7 separate regions of the Homo sapiens genome follow, and regions 1, 2, 3, 5, 6 and 7 are each linked to region 4. The links are contacts of gene promoters, found by promoter capture Hi-C in blood cells and fetal thymus (Javierre and others, 2016). All regions are on one chromosome and are shown on one strand. Each heading gives the region's core, a stretch centred on a gene start or on the middle of the fragment in contact. The rest is flanking DNA. Distances are from core to core; before and after follow the strand shown. Region 1 overlaps LOC101927314 (a long non-coding RNA gene). Region 2 holds the start of MMS22L (MMS22 like, DNA repair protein). Region 3 overlaps MMS22L (MMS22 like, DNA repair protein). Region 4 holds the start of POU3F2 (POU class 3 homeobox 2). Region 5 has its middle 2.3 kb from the start of SIM1. Region 6 overlaps LOC101927314 (a long non-coding RNA gene). Region 7 overlaps MMS22L (MMS22 like, DNA repair protein).

Evidence for each region. Contacts are between HindIII fragments. The CHiCAGO score rates a contact against its expected background, and 5 or more counts as called.
Region 1: a fragment that was not itself captured here is called in contact with the fragment with the promoter of POU3F2 in region 4 in 1 of 17 cell types (naive CD8 T cells); the score reaches 6.1 in naive CD8 T cells.
Region 2: the fragment with the promoter of MMS22L here is called in contact with the fragment with the promoter of POU3F2 in region 4 in 2 of 17 cell types (total CD4 T cells and total B cells); the score reaches 8.2 in total CD4 T cells.
Region 3: a contact is called between a fragment that was not itself captured here and the fragment with the promoter of POU3F2 in region 4, in 3 of 17 cell types (total CD4 T cells, naive CD4 T cells and M2 macrophages). The highest score is 8.6, in total CD4 T cells.
Region 5: a contact is called between a fragment that was not itself captured here and the fragment with the promoter of POU3F2 in region 4, in 2 of 17 cell types (naive B cells and total B cells). The highest score is 14.1, in naive B cells.
Region 6: a contact is called between a fragment that was not itself captured here and the fragment with the promoter of POU3F2 in region 4, in 9 of 17 cell types (total CD4 T cells, total CD8 T cells, naive CD8 T cells and 6 more). The highest score is 14.7, in total CD4 T cells.
Region 7: a contact is called between a fragment that was not itself captured here and the fragment with the promoter of POU3F2 in region 4, in 4 of 17 cell types (total B cells, naive CD8 T cells, naive B cells and 1 more). The highest score is 7.7, in total B cells.

Annotation. Positions count from the first base shown.
Region 1 is chr6:97,391,846-97,394,654 of GRCh38, forward strand. All of the region lies in intron 1 of LOC101927314 (a long non-coding RNA gene), which reads left to right. Among named protein-coding and RNA genes, the nearest start is that of MMS22L, 110 kb to the left of the region's middle. The HindIII fragment of the contact is 7,266 bases long and covers 1-2,809 here.
Region 2 is chr6:97,281,934-97,284,633 of GRCh38, forward strand. It overlaps MMS22L (MMS22 like, DNA repair protein), which reads right to left and starts at 1,283. Exons shown (of 25, transcript NM_001350599.2): 1 at 1,163-1,283; 2 at 381-620. The coding sequence starts at 544. RefSeq lists enhancers at 860-1,119, 1,500-1,559. The HindIII fragment of the contact is 13,882 bases long and covers 1-2,700 here.
Region 3 is chr6:97,199,702-97,202,401 of GRCh38, forward strand. All of the region lies in intron 14 of MMS22L (MMS22 like, DNA repair protein), which reads right to left. Among named protein-coding and RNA genes, the nearest start is that of MMS22L, 82 kb to the right of the region's middle. The HindIII fragment of the contact is 158 bases long and covers 1,190-1,347 here.
Region 4 is chr6:98,833,157-98,836,052 of GRCh38, forward strand. POU3F2 (POU class 3 homeobox 2) reads left to right here and starts at 1,418. Exons shown (of 1, transcript NM_005604.4): 1 at 1,418-2,896. The coding sequence starts at 1,718. RefSeq lists a silencer at 1,359-1,428 and enhancers at 2,067-2,136, 2,135-2,731, 2,732-2,896. The HindIII fragment of the contact is 14,703 bases long and covers 1-2,896 here.
Region 5 is chr6:100,465,910-100,468,609 of GRCh38, forward strand. No RefSeq gene overlaps it. Among named protein-coding and RNA genes, the nearest start is that of SIM1, 2.3 kb to the left of the region's middle. RefSeq lists an enhancer at 1,744-2,335. The HindIII fragment of the contact is 3,319 bases long and covers 1-2,700 here.
Region 6 is chr6:97,480,881-97,483,580 of GRCh38, forward strand. All of the region lies in intron 1 of LOC101927314 (a long non-coding RNA gene), which reads left to right. Among named protein-coding and RNA genes, the nearest start is that of MMS22L, 200 kb to the left of the region's middle. The HindIII fragment of the contact is 6,453 bases long and covers 1-2,700 here.
Region 7 is chr6:97,217,170-97,219,869 of GRCh38, forward strand. All of the region lies in intron 14 of MMS22L (MMS22 like, DNA repair protein), which reads right to left. Among named protein-coding and RNA genes, the nearest start is that of MMS22L, 65 kb to the right of the region's middle. The HindIII fragment of the contact is 1,523 bases long and covers 553-2,075 here.

The sequences.
Region 1 (2,809 bases), core at 58-2,557, 1.4 Mb before region 4:
TGTTGAAATAAATCGTCTAATCAACATTTTCCCTAAATATTTTATAAATATGCAAAATTTATCAAAGTGCACTTGTATGTAGATCTTTTGACTATATATATAGTCTATATATATTTATATATTTATGTATATATATATAAAAATTCATATATTATATGTATTTATATACTACATATATAGTTAAAAGATCTACATACATAAATACATGTTTATCTATCGATATAAATATAATAAATATATTACTATATTTATTACATATTAATATATTTATATTCACCAAAGCTGAAGTGCAATAGAGTGATTATAACTAACTGCAGCCTCAAACTTGTGGACTCAAGTGATCCTCCTGCCTTAGCCTCTCGAGTAGCTGGGACCACAGGCATGTGTCACCATGCCCAGCTATTTTTTATTTTTCATAGAGATAGGGGTCTCACTTCGTTGCTCAGGCTGGTCTTGAACTCCTGGCTTCAAGCAATACTCCCTCTTCAGCCTACCAAAGTGCTGGGATTACAGGTTGAGCCGCTACACCCAGCCACTATTTTTATACATAGCTTTAAAAGTTTTGAAAAATTTTCCTGGGGGACTGATATTACTAAATGTCTATCTTTTCATGACTCCTCCATGCATAAAATATAATTAAGGAAATGGAAGGGCTAATTTAATCTGTAAATATTTTAGTAATGATAAGATATTAAAGAAAGCAGAAGGACGAAAGGAAGGAAAGCTGGGTCAGGGCGGGGGGATAAGGAAGACTTCAGGGAGAAAGCAAATGAATTGAGCTTTGAAGAATGAATAAAGGTTTGCCAAAAGGCTGTGGAGTGTGAGGTCAAAAGCATTCCAGACAAGAAAAAATTTCATGCAAAGTTCTAGAGATGTGAAAGGATGAATCATATGATTAGAGAACTTGGGTTAATTAGGAATTGCTGGATTTTAAATTGCAGGTGGAAGACACTATTCAGAGGAAGGTAGAGATCAGAAAACAAAGAACCTTATTTCCTTCTAAGGAATCTAGGCTTTATTTCTAAGTGATGGGAATTCTGAGGACTTTTGAGTGATAGGGCCAGGTTTCTGTGAAGTTAAGTTTAGATTTGTGGGATGAGATCATAGAAGGAAGGGAGTTAGGAGATTATCAAATGTTTGGGGCAGAGATAATGAGGTCTTAGGCTCAGAGCAGAAGGTTGAGGAGAGACAACTGAGAATAGAGGCTTAGAAGGGAGGAGGGAAATGGATGTGGGAGCAAGAGATGGGGAGGGAAAATGACATAGAGGAGCAGAAGTAGGTTAAGGAAGTCAAGCGTCCTGAGAACTCATTATTAACTCATACACATATATAGGCAAATAATGTTTTGTTGCAGACATGTGTTGTACAAAATAGAAAATAGTAAATCTGAATCCCATTCATTGTATAGATACTGATTTTTAAATATATGTCACACAGGCAGAACACACAAAGACATAAAGGTGAGTGGAGATAATTTTCAAAAGGAAACCTCTCAGTAAGGAAAATCACAGGTTGCTTGCTGTTTGATTCAGAATCAAAAGTGTTAATTGAAAATTGTTATTTATATTTCCCTAAAGTCTCATGACACTTTTTTGGTCTACTTATATTAAAATGCGGATAACACAAGGTATGATGAGGTAATTTTTTGCCACTTTCTAAACCTCTTGTTATTCACTCTAGTTGTTTAAGTGTTGAATTTCTTTGTCTTGTTAAAAAGTGTCCTGTTGCTGAATGGTACAAGTACTAGATCTGTTCATTAGTAGCTAATTTTATTTATATTTAAATGAAGAAGTTATTGATGGAAGGAGCAATGTCATAAAGAAAATCGAAGTAAACATTTTATGTATAAAAATTAGATAAATGGTTCCTTTTGAGTGGGAGAAAGAGGGACCAGTCCAGAAAGGAAGAAGGGTACTTCCTTGGCCATAAATGCTTTTCTTATGTTTTTGGTGCCTTGTTACCTGAAAGTAGATTTGAGGAGTGTGAGATGAACAGCATTAGTGGAACCATTAGAGAGGTGTAGGCCACCTCTTTTGCTTTGAGATCTGTTTCTTAAACTGAGAGAATCAGAGGGATGACTAATCCAACTAGGGGGAAATTGATCTTAGATTAAAGAGTCCAGGGTGAAATATAGTAAATTCCATTTTGGGGTCTGTAGAGTTAGAGTAAACTGCTAATTGGACAGCTAATATGTAGTGAGGTAAGATATCAATCATGTATCATAGAATTCTAATTTCTTTTAAAAATTTAAAGTGTATTGATACTTGTTCACATAATAATTACATTTCTTTTTGAAATAATTTTTAAGAAAGAAATTATCTCTGACTAAAATACTGATAATACATGCTTTTAAATCTGTGAGGAATTGGGTGCAAAGAACCAGCAGCCTAGAAAAGAGACTTCTAGATTTGTTGAATGAATGAATGCTTGGATATCAACACATCGAGGTGCTCTGGCTGCTTACACTGCTTCACTGAGCACTACTCCCACCTAGTGGCAATCTACCTGTAGTGCATGGGTATTTTAAAGGAATGAAAACTGAAGTTCTCTGGAAGGGAACTATGTACTTTGACCTCCTGTCAATCATACTTCAACATTATTAAATTTATTGAAGGAAGAAGCCTTGTAACATTCAATTCTGAATTTTCTATAAAAATGTAGTTGAAGATTTTGTTCACCATATTCATGATTCAATGTAGCTTATTTGAAAGAACAGTCTTTTAATAATTCCTAGAAATAAAAAAATAATTTACAAACAAAAAATAATTTACAAATAAGAAAAATATAAATTGCTAATATATGGACATAT
Region 2 (2,700 bases), core at 33-2,532, 1.6 Mb before region 4:
GGCAATAAAAAATGTTTGTCTCTCTTAAATATTACTGGAAAGCTCTAGAATATTATCACACTCTTTAGAAGGAAATACTACTGCAAAAGGCTCAGATAGTTAGGAATTCATTTTAAGTAGAAGAAAAATTAGTGCCCAGCTCCCTACAGTAAGGGAACATCAGTTACCAAGGAAGTTTTCCCTAATACCCCAAATACTTTAGATATGCCCTTACCAAGAAGCCAGCAGAACTGATAATCATTTGTACCCTTATGATATACTAAGCTGATTTATAAAACACGACTTGGTGAACACCAAAGTTTAATGGGCTGAAATAACTAACATTCCTAAAAAACTGGTGAATAATCAGATGAGGGAAAATGTCTCTGAGTTTTACCTACCGCTTAAGGGCTCCGCTGCAGAGGTAGGATTCTCCAGAAAAATGTTTTCCTCCTCCTCTGTTGTCAACAGCACAAGAAAAGTAAGGAGGTTTGCACCATTCCGTCCCCAGCTCCAGCTCTAAGCTGTCAGTCAGGAACGTCGATGCAGCAGAACAGTTCTCCATTGTTTACTTCATGTTCTGAAACACTTGGGGTTCGTCGTATCATTAAGGGCTCCAAAGAGAAGGTGTGAAGAGATTCCTGTTGGGGGGGGGGGGGTGGGGCCGAGAGAGTGGGGATTACTTCAGAAAGTTCTCAAGACGTCCGCCAGCAGGAAGGAAAAACAAACGAACAAACCCAGAGGCCAAATTCCCAATTCCCCCTCGCCCTCCGTCCATCAAGGCTGTCAGAACTTAAGACAAAATGCACAACCAACTGGCTGTGGCAGGGACCTCGAAATCCGGCCACTAAGTCGGGCTCTGCAGCCCAGGACAAGGTGAAAAGCAAAGAAATGTCTGCAGGACATAGCGTCCCGGGCTTGCCTAGAACTGCGCCCTCCGCAACGTTTCTAAACCACTCTCCGCCCGTTTCCCAGCAGCAGGGTGGAGAACGCTCCCTCCCCGGCTCGGGGTGGAAATTAGGAAAGCAACCCCTAGGGCCAACCCCGACCCTCCAAGGAGGAGGCGAGACCCACCAGGCCCACGCCTGGCAGCACTCGGGCGGAGAAGGCGGGGTGCCGGTATCCCGCGTACCCGGCTGCAGCAAGGACCCGGGGCGTCGGTTACCCGCGGTGCCTGTCGTACCCGCTCACATTTCCAGCTCCCGAAACCTGCCTCCTGTGACCCAGACCACCAACAGGAATCTTTGGGGTCTAAACCGCAAACAGGCGAAATTCCCGCCACCGCGCGCCCGCGCTCCGGAAAGGCGGGGCCACGGCGCAGCCCTCCCCCGGCTACCAATCGCCTCGCGATATCTGCGCGGAAACAGTCGGAGCCCCACGAATTCTCGCGAGAGTCCGTCAGTCCGGGACGAGGTACTGAGAAACTTTTTTTTTTGTACCTTTAATTGGTGCGTTCGGCTGAAAGGCGGGGCCTGGTAAAAAAAAAAAAACAGAACTGCTGCTGAGGCGGAGGAGAGGACTTAAGGACTATGGGTTTATCCTCTGGCCGGACCAAAGAGAAGATATTTACTCCAGTGAGTGCGAAGTGAGTGCCTCGTTCACACCCACAGTCGCGCCGTCCCCTCTTCCCGCTCTGGGGCCAGCAACTCTTGTTAGAATGCAGATGCCTTTTGTCCATGGACTGTGAGGCAGGCAAGTGCAACAATTAATTTTCTCTGTAACAGATGGAACAAGTAGACAGAAAATTAGTATGGATATGGAAAACTTGGAAAGCACTAACCAACTTGACCTAATTGACGTTTATAGGTGACCAACCCAACAATAGCAGAATACACACTCCTGTCAAGTGCACATGAAACATTCACTAAGCGATACCATATTCCGAGCCATAAAACAAATGTCATCAACTTTAAAAAGATTTAAATCGTACAAAGTGTATAGTCTGATCATAATGGCATTAAACTAGAAATAAAGTAGATACTTGAAATACTCTAAATATTTGGAAATTAAGAATCATACTTCTAACTAACCTGTGAATCAGGAAAAATCACAGGAAAATTAGAAAATACGTTGAATTAAATTAAAATGAAAACACTAAAATTTGTAACAGTACCTGCTTACATTAAAAAGAAGAACTCAATTCAATAAACTTTTGTCTTAAGTAACTAGAAAAAACCCCCAGCATATTGAAACCAAAGCAAGCAAAATGAATGAAATGATAAATAGTAGAAATAAATGGGATGAAATAAATGGAAGGAAATACATGCAAAAGTTGTTTTTCTAAAAGAGCAATATAATTGATAACCCCCCTACCCAAACTGATAAAGAAAATAAACAAATTATCAGTATCAGGAATTAAAAAGGTTTCATCACTATGAAATTTAGTCATTAAAAGGACAAGGATATTAAAAGAACATTATGAACATTTTTATGCCAATAAGCATAGGTGAAATGGACAAATTCCTTAAAAGACGCAAACTGTCAAAAATCAACAAAAGAAGAAAATTTGAGTATCTCTGTATTTATCGTAGTACTCAGAATCTTTGGTTAAGCCTCCCTCCTCTCTCTCTGCACACACACACACACACACACACACACACACACACACACACCACTTCTTACAAGAAAACTTCAGGCCAGGGCAGGCACAGTGGCTTTGGGAGGCTGAAGTAGGTGGATCCCTTGAGACCAGGAGTTCCAGACCAGCCTGGGCAACATGGT
Region 3 (2,700 bases), core at 19-2,518, 1.6 Mb before region 4:
TTTTTTTTTCTTTTTGGATTTCAAAACTCAGTCAAGTAAGAGTCAAAAAGTACCTAGGGATATTTTTTAAAGTGTTTATTCATCAAAAGTATAACCAAACCCTAATGGAAATAACAGTCTAGTCACCATTGTAATATAGTGCTAAACCTGCAGTACATATATAATCTTTAGAAATCTGCAAACTCCTTGAAATTATGTGTAAAGTTTTGTGTATACATAAATGTGTATAAGCCCCATCCCCTTTCTTCTGCTTTCTACCACTTTATAAACACTTCTAAGTACAAGCTGAATGCCTCCTCTCAATTTCTCTCCCTGACTCCTCTTCTGCCTTATTTTGATCTCCTCACTCTGTGCCTCTGTTGTAGTCAACAATCCAACTGTAACCTCATGTACAAAATGCACTAACTTAGGAGGAATGTTTAATATGAATTCTATGTAGAAAAAGCAGTGACTAATACATGTTTAAGATCAATTATGAAAATCATCAAAAAGTATAAGCTCGTTTAGAATAATATCATATTTAGCAGTAAATAAATTTCTTAATTTTAAATTATGGTTTTCCAGATATGTAGTTTCATACCACATACATTCCCTATAGAGATGCTATTTACCACTTTTACTGTAGTTCTTTAAAAGGGAGGAAAAGATAGAGGAGGGGAAAAAGTTTCCTAAAAGATTATCCATTGAGTCAATGATCTGTGGGGTTTATTATAAAGCTCCATTATTAGGGCTGAGAGCCTCAAAGGCGTTTATTATAGCACTAATTTCTTTTTGCAAGGCTTCAGCAAATGAACCGATTTATCTGGTATCTGCATGCTTAGGGCTTGATACATGCTATTTGTACATGACAGGTTTCATCTGCGTAGCACCATTGATAACATTTATCTGCACATCAAAAAAGCTCATCTCCTGATGAAAAAAAAATCCATGCATATGCTGGGATAAGAAATGTTAAAGTGGTGAGTAAAAGACCTGTGATATCTCATAAAATGGAACAAAACTACAAAAAGATCACCGATTCAGTATGAATGTGCAACAGTGCTATAGGAGCAGATATAATGTCAAACAAGGAAGAAATGGAAAGATACTTGCTTACACTGATAAAAGAGTAGGGCTTTGTTACCATCCTGTGAATTTTAACTAGAAATTGGAAAAAAAAATTACTTTCAAATAAGACAAAGTTTCATAAAGCTTTAAGAACAATGCAAAAGTAGTTCAAAATAAATCTTAAGACAGTACCCATTGTTTGTAACTGCCAGTAGAAATTAACCCCTGAAAGTTACTCTTATGGGAATAAGATGTTTAGATTGACTGTTGCTGTAGTTCAAAATTAAAAATCTTTGATAAAGCTTAAAGTCCTTATAAGAAAGTAACTTTAAAAAACACACAGAAAAAAATGTAACCAAAATGTAAACCTGCTTTCCTTTCAGAAACAATAATCAGCTTACAACATCTGTGTAAAAGATTGTGAAAGGTGGACACAGCCTACATATTTGAATAATAATGTAATAATAAAGTATTTCCAACAGATAATATATAATATATTCTTTTGAGAAAAATCAGTGTTTTTCTTTATAAAGAAGGTATACACTGAGTTAAAGAGCTTGTTCCTATAATTCATGATCTTTCAGAACATGTGGTTACGTTAGGCTTCAATCACCTCTTACTCTTACTCTTCCCAGCATTTGGTAATATAGACAGTGGAGCTAATTTTCTGTCATTCAGGAAGAACTGCTGGATCACTAAACTTGTATCATCATCATCTCTGAAACACAGTAAAAATCACTGTTAGACCCAATAGTTTATTAGATCGAACCCACCATCAACAATGTCAACTCTGCCTGGTCGTGTTAACAGGAAAATGTTTTACGAGTTCCACCACTGGGCATCAATTTAACTTCCAGCACCAGCTATGCTGTAAAACCGTGAATGTAATTTATATGGTGACCCGCGTGTGTGGGAAGCAATATCTAGGTGAAACTTCTCACAGTCTGACAAAATGCTTTGATTTGCACCATTCAGATGATTGAGCAAAAAGAGTTTAAGCAATCACCACCAATAGCCTTTATCTCCAAATTCACTAAAAATTTATTACTCTATGAGTGCAATCTATTGCTTTAGAGCCTAGATTGACAGAATAGAAATGACTGGATAAATATTACATTTTCAACTGGTACACATCTTGTCCATTAGGTTTAAATATTGGACAAGCTATGTGTTTAAGATAAATATCAGTCTTAGCTTATTCCCTCGAACAATACTTTTAGAAAGCCTACAAATGTTTCCACAGTAACATTTTTGTGCTTACATATAGCAGAGGACACATGTTCACTGCCAATTAGGAGAAAGTAAACCAAGAGACCACTGTATTCTTCTTATAACAACATACCTTTGTCTTTTACTTAGCACTTAACACAGATGACAATATTTACATATATTTTGCTGTGTACTAAACAACTGAGTAATCACTCAAGCTGGAAAGGACATAAATAGAGCTCACCCACCTATCCTAAATAACAGTTTACTATTCAGGCCTTCCTAGGAATTTTAAACTAGCATAGATTTCATACAGATGGCTTTCCAAGTAGCTACTCCTGTGCACTAACAGAAGGGTGTTTACCTGGCAACCTCTCTATCCACTTGCCTGAGATCATATACCTTTAAATATGGCAATGGATGTTTCAGATCTATATATATAGA
Region 4 (2,896 bases), core at 168-2,667:
CCCTGCGTGGCGGTCACGCCGCTCCAGCCTGGGTCCGCGCCCAAGTTCTAGCTACCGGGCTTGCAGGCTCGGAAACTCGCAGGCGGCACCTGCTCTGGGCGGCTAAAGAACTGATGGCGCGACGCGCCCGCGCTCCGTAGAGCGGCGCTGCGGGTGCATGGTCCCATAGTCTTGCTCTGGAGTTCACTGCTGAAAGCTGAGCTGGGAGCTTGGCCAGGGAGCGCCAAAGACATAGACTAACCCCACCCGCTAGCGCCCACCGAAGTTACTGATTAGGAAGGTTCCCCTGGCATCAGCCCATTTGCTTCACACACTCTTCCTCCTTCCCAAGGGGCTAACGGAAAAGTTGCACCTACCAGCGGTAGGAGCACGGGGAATCGCGCACGCAGGCCCTCCGCGCGGCTTCCCGGAGCGGCCTTTGGCGACTGCGCCGCCCCTACAAGGCCGCACACCCCTCGCCAGCACTCCGGCAGCCTCGCACAAGACGGAGCCCACGCAGGCTTCTAGTTTTCTAAACCAAAAACTGCACGCGCCGGCGTGTGAATCTGACGGAGAGACTTTTAGAGTTTTGTTTGGTTTTCAGTTCAGACCGCTACGCTGTCAGAGCAAGCAACTCCGAGCCTTGATGGGAATGACTTACAAGCCGCGGTGCGGGCTGAGCCTGCCTCTCTCGGGGTTCTTTCCCCAAGGGAGTGGGAGACAATTGGGCCTGGAACCTAAAAGGAAGAGAGCCTGTGCTAGCCGCGGGGTAGAGGGGAAGGAGAAGAGCTTTGGGCCGAAGTGTCCGCACACCCTGGAGCAAGAGACACTTGTGCACTGAAATTCTAACCGTGGGATGCAAGGAGAGTTGAACAGGGGAACAGGTCTGGCTCTTGGCTCTAGGTTTAAGAGATACACACTGTGTGTGTGTCCCTAGGTGAATAAAAATCCGACTCCCGCTGGCTCGGTGCGACCCAGCTTTTCCCTTACCCCCTCCGTTTCCCCATCTTAAAGCCCTATTGGGAAACGAAAGTGGACACCACTGCCTCCCGCCCCCCACCCCAATCCAAGTCTTCCAAGTGTCTGTGGCCGATAAGAGCACCGGGACCGCCCCCCTGCCGGTCTTCTCTGCCTGGGAGACAGATGGGGGGCGGGGCCCATCCGAGAGAGGGCGGAGGAGGCCCCGGGTGAGGAAGAAGCGGGGGGGTGAGAACTGAGAGAATCTGAATCGGGAGGCGAAGGGGACGGGGAGGAGGGCTAGGAGGACTCCGAGCCCGGGGGAGGGGGAGGGAGTAGCTCTGCGCCAATCAGTGGCGCCGGCCTGGGAGGTTGCTAGCGGTATCCACGTAAATCAAAGGGCGCGGAGCCAATGGGAGGGGGCGGAGGGGGCGGGGCCCAGGCGCGTGCCGCTGCGAGCCGGCGCTGCCAAGAGAGCGGGAGAGAGCTGGAGAGAGCAGGGAGAGGGGGGAGCGCCGAGCTAGTCAGAGAGTGAGCGAGAGCGAGAAGGAGGGAGAGGAGGAGAAAGAGAGCGAGGGCGGGCGGGAGGCGGCGGCGGCGGCAGCAGCAGCAGTAATAGCAGGAGCAGCAACAGAAGGCGTCGGAGCGGGCGTCGGAGCTGCCCGCTGTGGGAGAGAGAGGAGACAGAAAGAGCGAGCGAGGAGAGGGAGCCCGAGGCGAAAAAGTAACTGTCAAATGCGCGGCTCCTTTAACCGGAGCGCTCAGTCCGGCTCCGAGAGTCATGGCGACCGCAGCGTCTAACCACTACAGCCTGCTCACCTCCAGCGCCTCCATCGTGCACGCCGAGCCGCCCGGCGGCATGCAGCAGGGCGCGGGGGGCTACCGCGAAGCGCAGAGCCTGGTGCAGGGCGACTACGGCGCTCTGCAGAGCAACGGACACCCGCTCAGCCACGCTCACCAGTGGATCACCGCGCTGTCCCACGGCGGCGGCGGCGGGGGCGGTGGCGGCGGCGGGGGGGGCGGGGGCGGCGGCGGGGGCGGCGGCGACGGCTCCCCGTGGTCCACCAGCCCCCTGGGCCAGCCGGACATCAAGCCCTCGGTGGTGGTGCAGCAGGGCGGCCGCGGAGACGAGCTGCACGGGCCAGGCGCCCTGCAGCAGCAGCATCAGCAGCAGCAACAGCAACAGCAGCAGCAACAGCAGCAACAGCAGCAGCAGCAGCAGCAACAGCGGCCGCCGCATCTGGTGCACCACGCCGCTAACCACCACCCGGGACCCGGGGCATGGCGGAGCGCGGCGGCTGCAGCGCACCTCCCACCCTCCATGGGAGCGTCCAACGGCGGCTTGCTCTACTCGCAGCCCAGCTTCACGGTGAACGGCATGCTGGGCGCCGGCGGGCAGCCGGCCGGTCTGCACCACCACGGCCTGCGGGACGCGCACGACGAGCCACACCATGCCGACCACCACCCGCACCCGCACTCGCACCCACACCAGCAGCCGCCGCCCCCGCCGCCCCCGCAGGGTCCGCCTGGCCACCCAGGCGCGCACCACGACCCGCACTCGGACGAGGACACGCCGACCTCGGACGACCTGGAGCAGTTCGCCAAGCAGTTCAAGCAGCGGCGGATCAAACTGGGATTTACCCAAGCGGACGTGGGGCTGGCTCTGGGCACCCTGTATGGCAACGTGTTCTCGCAGACCACCATCTGCAGGTTTGAGGCCCTGCAGCTGAGCTTCAAGAACATGTGCAAGCTGAAGCCTTTGTTGAACAAGTGGTTGGAGGAGGCGGACTCGTCCTCGGGCAGCCCCACGAGCATAGACAAGATCGCAGCGCAAGGGCGCAAGCGGAAAAAGCGGACCTCCATCGAGGTGAGCGTCAAGGGGGCTCTGGAGAGCCATTTCCTCAAATGCCCCAAGCCCTCGGCCCAGGAGATCACCTCCCTCGCGGACAGCTTACAGCTG
Region 5 (2,700 bases), core at 126-2,625, 1.6 Mb after region 4:
AGAAAACACAACAGGTAGCATCAAGAAAAAGTCAAATTGTCCCAAAAACAATTGTTGTCCTCACGAATCACCCCCTACAGACTCGACTCCCGGCTTGGTTTTGGTACGCCGGTGACCAGATTCGGCTCCTAGAGGTGCGTTTGGAGGGAGTTGTTTCATCTACCATAAAAATCAGTGAGAACACCAGTGACGGGGCACTCATCCTCTCGTTTGTGGCGCTAATTGCCACTGAGAAAATAAATACTTTGAAGAGGGGTGTGTGCCATTCTGCTGATATTCAGAACAACTTTAAGAGTGTTTGTTCAAAAATACAGACATCTGCCACCTCCTTGCCGCCCGATGGCAGTAAGATAGTCGTAGAAGGACAACAGCAGCTTTCTGGTGTTATTTACATATCTGGGCAACACCTGGCTGGAGGAGGTGAAAGTTTTGGATAGAAAGAAAAAGAAAGAAGCACGGAGATTTTGTAGGTCTTTCAAAACTGGAATCCAGCTAATGGACTCTAATCTAGGAGGAGTCATTTCCCCAGTGGCTGTAGCCACTTAGAGATCTGGTTCTGGGCGCCTTCCAACCACCCAATGATGCGCTTTTAACAAGACATAGCTAGAAGATAGCGAGAGATGCACTGTGGCTCACTTATACACAAGATTCCAGAAAGATCAGATAAGGTCAAGTTGGCTACTACATGTAAAGTCGGGGGTGGAGGGTGCGTGTGGAGAGGGGAAATAACCTTTCTTGACCCTCCTCTCCCCTCCAACCAGGTCACATATAGCTGCCAGGCGAAGCAATGACACTTAGGGTTAAGAGGAGGTTTTCCATTCGACTGTGTTCTAGAGAGGATTTCAGTCAAGACCGCGGTTACTCTAACCCTATCTCTACTTAAAACAACATGCCGGTGTGGAAGTGCCTCTCTGGGGTTTGAAACCTGTGTCCACAGCAGGGACTTCCGGGGGGTGGAGGTAGGGAGTCAGGTAATGCTGGGTTTCCAGAAGAAAAAATGCAGTAATTTTGCCTTCAGAAGCAAGATGGGCAAAATGAGTAAGGAAGTCTTCACGCTTAAGGCTGACGTCCTGGGGGGCTGGGCGGGCTGTTCCAATGTCCCAGTGAAGCTCAGTTGTCAATGAGCCAAGTAGATGTCGTTTAATAAACAAAGTGAATGCACGACCACGAGGTGACGGCCTCTCGCTAAGTCCTCAGCACACAACTGTCTGAGCCGCGTTTACCGAGAGAGTGAATTAGCATGACGACGTAACACCTGTTTTTCTAATCTTTGAACCTAGGTTGGAGCCGGAACGCTGCTCCTTCACTCCCCCTCCCGGGCCCAGGGACCTGGCTTTGCACCCTCCCCACGACCCCGCCTGCCAGCCCCCCACGCGCCCTGTAGCCGGAGGCGTGAACCGTGAACCGGAACCTCAGGTGCCTCCCACGTGTTCTGCGAATTTACGTTCGCCTCTAGCACGGGAAATTTTAAATGAATTTCTTGAAGCTCAGAGACTAATCGTTTTGCCAATATAAGGAGAAAAGCCCCAGAAAGGAAGAGACGGTCACGGGCGACCCACTAACCCCAAATAGAGATCCTTATAGAGTCTAGGCCGCCACCTCCTTGAGCCGGTGGCCTTAAAACCTAGCCTCTGGCCCTCAGGCACCCAGAATGCGATCCTGATGTGGGAGAAAACCCATGCGGGGCTGCAAAAAAGTGTCTCCCTCCTTCCCCCACCAAGCAGGGCGAACAGCCTAGTGTGATGGCGACACTGTTCCCCCAAGAGTCCCTGCCACTTCTGGGGCAACCCAGGATGCTGCCCTCATGGAGCCTGCCCCGGACCCCGGAGGCCAGGACATGCAGGCGTCCGTGACTCTACCCCAGGGGAGCCAGGCCGGGTAGATTCTGGAACCAACGCGCCTTTGTGAGCAATGTCTAGCATGCCGCGCGCACCCAGAAAGAAGGGGGAGCGGGCACCTCAAGGGCCTTCTGACCCCTCCCCGCAAAAGGCAAAATCAAGACTACAGAAGGTGAACTTTCGGTTGTAAAAGAACGAGTGAACACATACTGGAATTCCGGTGCAAACCGCCGAACCGGGGTTCAATGCCTCGGCCCCCGACCCTTGCTCTGGCACAGACCTCCACCCTGCCTTCCAAAAACTCCTCTAATGACTCTTCTTTGCTCCAGGCTGTTTGAGCATCTTATCAAAACTAGAATGATTTCTGTCCACCACCATTCTCTTTATTTTTTTGCAGACTGCTAGGGACGCACACATACACTTTTGCATGCTCGCACATCCCACATGCACAGTTGCACAAAGCACACACACATGGATTTTGCTCAATGTCCAAGGTCAGGATGAAGGATATATTTATAACCAAGATACAAAATCTGAAGATGGTCACTCGAACATCTCAGTATGTTACATCCAGATGTTCACTCTGTCACTGAAAAGGACAAGTTATCTAGGGACATATTATTGTCTTAGGAAATATTAACATTTTCTAGTTCCAAGTATATTAGTTAACGTAATCCTGTCCTAGACTCATTTATTTTTACCACATTTAGACATTTACATCTCTGAGAGTCGTTATGATGTTGAGGCAGAAACAAGGGCCACTTGTAGCCTTGACCCTAAACAAAGTGTAGAAGGAGCCCCCCAAAATATGGTCATATTTACTATTTAGAAGTTATGGTAAATATTACTTGTCTGATCAGGA
Region 6 (2,700 bases), core at 99-2,598, 1.4 Mb before region 4:
AGGTACTCCTCTTTCGTTTGTCTTAGTAGCCTCCAGGCATCCAAAGCATGGTAGCTTTCCACTAGCTTCCCAAGTCAGATGAGACAGATACCAGTTCCTTGGGCAGCATTCCAAAAAGCCAAAATGCCAAATGTCTGGTTTACTTTTTTCCTCTTTCCCAAGGGAGAAGTGATGAGTTGAAAATCTTGTCCCAGTTGTACCAAGCCCTAACAGCCTCTACCTGCAGCACCACATGGTTCCCCACTTTCTTTCTTTTTTTTTTTTTTTTTTTTTGAGATGGAGTCTCACTCTGTCGTCCAGGCTGGAGTGGCAGTGGCACCGTCTTGGCTCACTGCAAGCTCCACCTCCCGGGTTCATGCTATTCTCCTGCCTCAGCCTCCCGAGTAGCTGGGACTACAGGCGCCCGCCACCAAACCCAGCTAATTTTTTGTATTTTTAGTAGAGACGGGGTTTCACCGTGTTAGCCAGGATGGTCTCGATCTTCTGACCTCGTGATCCACCCGCCTCGGCCTCCGAAAGTGTTGAGATTACAGGCTTGAGCCACCGCGCCCGGCCACTTGCTTTTGCTTTAAGAGACCTCCAGGCATCCAAATTATGCGGTTCTGTTAGTACTTTTAGTCAGGCAAAACAGATACCAGTCTCTTGGGCTGTCTTCCAAAAAGCCAGGATGTTAGATGTACACTCTTCTCTTTGCCCTTAAAGGAAAAGCCATGAGCCAACCTAAACTGTGCTGACTTGGAGGAACAATCATGGATAAAATGGAATGGCCCTTCTTACCCTTTTCAATGTTGCTGTACTTAGCTTTGTGCTCACGAGGGGTACTGCAACTTCTTAACGTTTTTCTGGAATTCTCAAAAAGGATTTTTGCTTTGTTTGTTGCTGTTAATTCAGTGACCCTGTGGGAAAAGAGAAGTGAGACTTCTTATTTTACCATCTTACTGATATTACTTCAATTATAATAAACTTAAATACCATCTTCAAGTTTATGATGGATTTCTACAAAATACTGAATGTGAGGAAACTTTCTCAAAGTTAGTAGTTACACTGAAATTGGGGAAAATAACTCATGAAACCCATAGTTTTTACTTAAAAATAATTAGTTTGCCATTTAGACTTTTTTTTTTTTTTTTTTTTTTTTTTTTGACACGGAGTCTCGCTCTGTTGCCAGGCTGGAGTGCAGTGGCGCGATCTCGGCTCATTGCAACCTCCGCCTCCCAGATTCAAGAGATTCTCCTGCCTCAGTCTCCCGAGTAGCTGGGACTACAGGTGCGCACCACCATGCCCAGCTGATTTTTGTATTTTTAGTAGAGACGGGGTTTCATCATGTTGGCTAGGATGGTCTCGATCTCTTCACCTTGTGATTGCCCCGGCCTCCCAAAGTGCTGGGATTACAGGCGTGAGCCACCGCGCCCAGTCATCATTTAGTTTTATACAAGTATAACATCTAGTTAGAGATAATTCACTTTTGATTATTCCAGCCCTATTTGCCTTTAACTTTAATAGCATCAACACCCAAGAGTTATTCATTGGCAGATTAACATTTTTAAGGTTTGTGGCCTCTAAATGACAGAATGAAAAAAAATCATTGTACAAATGTGAAGGAGCAAATATTCATCAACTGCAGGGAAAAATATTTTGATTAAAGATTTGAAAGTAGATTACTAGGGTTAGTTAAAATTGCTAGAGTTCAACTGCTATTGGGACTTTGTTCAAGAGAATGAGGAATATATGCTAGTAATAGAACAAGGAAAATAAGGTGGCTATGAAAATATACAGATGCAGGAAATCTTAGAATATGCATTTATTTTTAAAAAAGTGAGTATTTAACTATTTAGTATGTCACTGGGAAAATTTATGCAGTGACTGAGAAGCAGACTAGGTGCTTTGACCGATACATTTTACCTTCAATTTATGTCCTGTTGTGCATGTGTGGCAATCATCAAGTTATCATTTTATTGCTTTCATCCAAAGGTCATTAAAAGATCTATGGAGCAAAGGATAAATAGAGTATGATGTTTAGAATGGATTATAGGGACAAAAACAGAACAATATGACTTTCTGTATGTAAAACAAACTTGCATTTTGGAATAGAATTTAGAATAGAAATGATCAAACCTCTGCCATTATTATTATCTATAATTATTAAATAAACTTTGGCTCTAGATTTTTGAAGCACCCAAGAAATAGAGACATTCTGAGTCATAAGCAGAGCTCTGCTACAGATTAATTTACTTGTTTCTTTAGGTGTTTTAAATGATGTTTCTATTAAAAAGTCTGTATGTGAATTCTGGCTTCATTCTGGATGCATGGAGTGGATTAGTAAGTAATGAAAAAGGATTTTCAAAGTAAGTTGTGCAAGATGATCTCTTGTCATTCAGAAAGATACTATTAAAACTTCCTACATCGGGCATGGTGGGATCACGCCTGTAATCCCAGCACTTTGGGAGGCTGAGCAAGGAGGATCACCTGAGGTCAGGAGCTTGGGACCACCCTGGCCAACATGGCAAAGCCCCAACTCTACTAAAAATAAAAAAAATTAGTTGGGTGTGGTGGTGCATGCCTGTAATCCCAGCTACTCAGGAGGCTGAGGCAGAGAATCTCTTGAACCTGGTAGGCAGAGGCTGCAGTGAGCTGAGGTCATGCCATTGCACTCCAGCCTGGGTGACAGAGTGAGACTCCGTCTCAGAAATAAATAAATAT
Region 7 (2,700 bases), core at 64-2,563, 1.6 Mb before region 4:
CTCTATTCTATTCTATGCTTCTTGAAAGTAGGAGTAATCTTGTAAAAAATCTAATATATTTTTATTTTTAATTCATTATTTATTTATTTTTTTGAGGCGGAGTTTCACTCTTGTTGCTCAGGCTGGAGTGCAATGGCGCATTCTCGGCTCACTGAAGTCTCCACCTCCCAGGTTCAAGCGATTCTCCTGCCTCAGCCTCCTCAGCCCTTGAGTAGCTGGGATTACAGGTGCCCACCACCACGCCCAGCTAATTTTTTGTATTTTTAGTAGAGGTGGGGTTTCGCCGTGTCGGCCAGGCTGGTCTCAAACTCCTGACCTCAGGTGATCTGCCTGCCTCAGACTCCCAAAGTGCTAGGATTACAGGTGTGAGCCACTGCACCCAGCCAAATAAAATCTAATTATAAAGCTTCATTCACCTCCCACGTTAATTATATAATTATTAGGAACTGGGGTTAAATATCAGCTCTGACCTAGATTACAACTACAGATTATAATCAGGGGCATAGCAAATAAAAAACCAGAAGACTAACAAGGGTGAGGAACGTTTGTGAAAGCTTTGATATCTTTTCTTTGTAGCTAGTATTTTGAATTTCTCACAGATGGACCCTGCTGTGATTCTATTTTCTTATGTTGTGCTGGAGTCACTCAATAGGCCCTTTCATTACAGAATCTTCGGTTCTGAGAAATTTTCTTAAATTGTTTTATTGATTATTTCCTTCATTCCATTTTCTAAGTTCCCTCTTCCAAATGCCTTCCTTCCACTCTAATCCCAATACAGACAATCTGCACTTGTAGATTCAAAGTGTTCCTGCAGACCCAGCCTTGAGAGACTGGTTCCGAAATGTCTCAAAAGGAAGGTAAAGGCTCAAAGGACCCACTTGCTGCACCTGTTTCCATAGTTCAGTGGAAAAAATTCAATGATAACTAGTGAATTAGAAAGATAAAATAATAATAGTCATCCAGAAAATACTAAGGAAAACACACTGAATTTTTCAATAACACCGAAAACCTTTCAACTGGGAAGAACAAACCTCCTATCATCCTCTAGAGGTCCCTTCTACCCATGGGTACTTAGAAGACAATAAACACAGAGATGAAATTCAGATTATGCATTAAATCCATATCCTGACTGCATGGATACTGTTGTCTGCTTGCATATGGACACTGGCAAGAATTGTTGGATAAGCATATAAAATTTCAGGACAAGTATAAACCATTAGCAAGTAGTATGAAATGGTGAAAAAGTGATGGTTTAAATAAATACAAGTTTCTTTGTCCTTCCTCTCTACCATCTTAGTCTTTCATGTAAAAAATACATGAGTGCATACTACATATGCTTCATGTGACTGGTTCACTGATATATCCTAAGTGCCTACTATCATAGTAGGCATTCAAAAATACTAGTTAAATTTGTTGAATAAATTGTTTTTCATGAATATGTCTCCCCTTTAGAAAATAATTACAACACAAGGTAAAAAACAATAAAGGACATTAGAGATTTAGTAACTATTCAGGAAATTCAACAGGAATAGAGATTATTCAAGACTGGTGTATTAGTCGGTTCTCACACTGCCATAAACACCCTAGACTGGGTAATTTATAAAGAAAAGAGGTTTAATTGACTCATAGTTCCCCATGGCCAGAGAGGCCTCAGGGAACCCAAAATCATGGAGGAAGGTGAAGGGGAAGCAAGGACCCCTGAATTGAATTTTTTATTTTATATTCACTAATTTAAACTGTCACACATAGCTAGTGCTACCCTACTGGACAGCAGAAATCTTCACATGACAGCAGGAGGAAGAGCTGCTAGCAGGGAAAATGCCAGATGCTTATAAAACCATCAGATCTCGTGAGAACTCACTCAATACTACAAGAACAGCATGTGGGAACCACCCCCATGATCCAATCACCTCTGTCCATTGACACATGGAGGATTATAGGTCTCTCCCTCGACACGTGGGGATTACAATTTGAGATAAGATTTGAGTGGGGACACAGAGCCAAACCATATCAACTGGTAACACACGGATAAGCATACATTTCTCTTGAAATGTACAAGCATGCATTTCAAGAGAAGCTTGACATGAAGCTTCTTGACATGAATATTATTCACAAAAAAATGAAGAAAAGATAAATGAAGAAAACCAACATGTATTGAATGTACTGAAAGCTTATTATGATTCATGTTCTGGACAGGTGCAGCATCAAAGTCAGTGCTATCCCTTGGCAAGTCTTTCTGCTGCTATCCACTACATTATCCACTAACTAAATATAGCTATTGAGGACTTAATATATAGCTGGTGTTACAGAACAGTTGAATTTTTTATTTTATATTCACTAATTTAAACTGTCACACATAGCTAGTGCTACCCTACTGGACAGCAGAAATCTAAGCAGATGTTCATGGAAATCCTATGAGGTGGATATTATTTTACAAAGATGCAGCTGAAACTTAGAAAAGATTAAGTAACTTCCTAAGATTGCACTGTTGGTAAATGAAAGAGGGTGATCTGAACTCAGGTTTACTGACCTTAAAGCTCCTGCTTTTTAATACAATGTTTTGACAGCAGCAACTATCAGGCACTACTAGAGGTTCCTTAAGAAGCAAAGGCAAAAAGCAAAACTTGCTGTGTGCATAAGTCTCCTGCCTGGAATACTGGCTCCTCCCATATATGATGCTCTTTAATTCCATCTCTACCT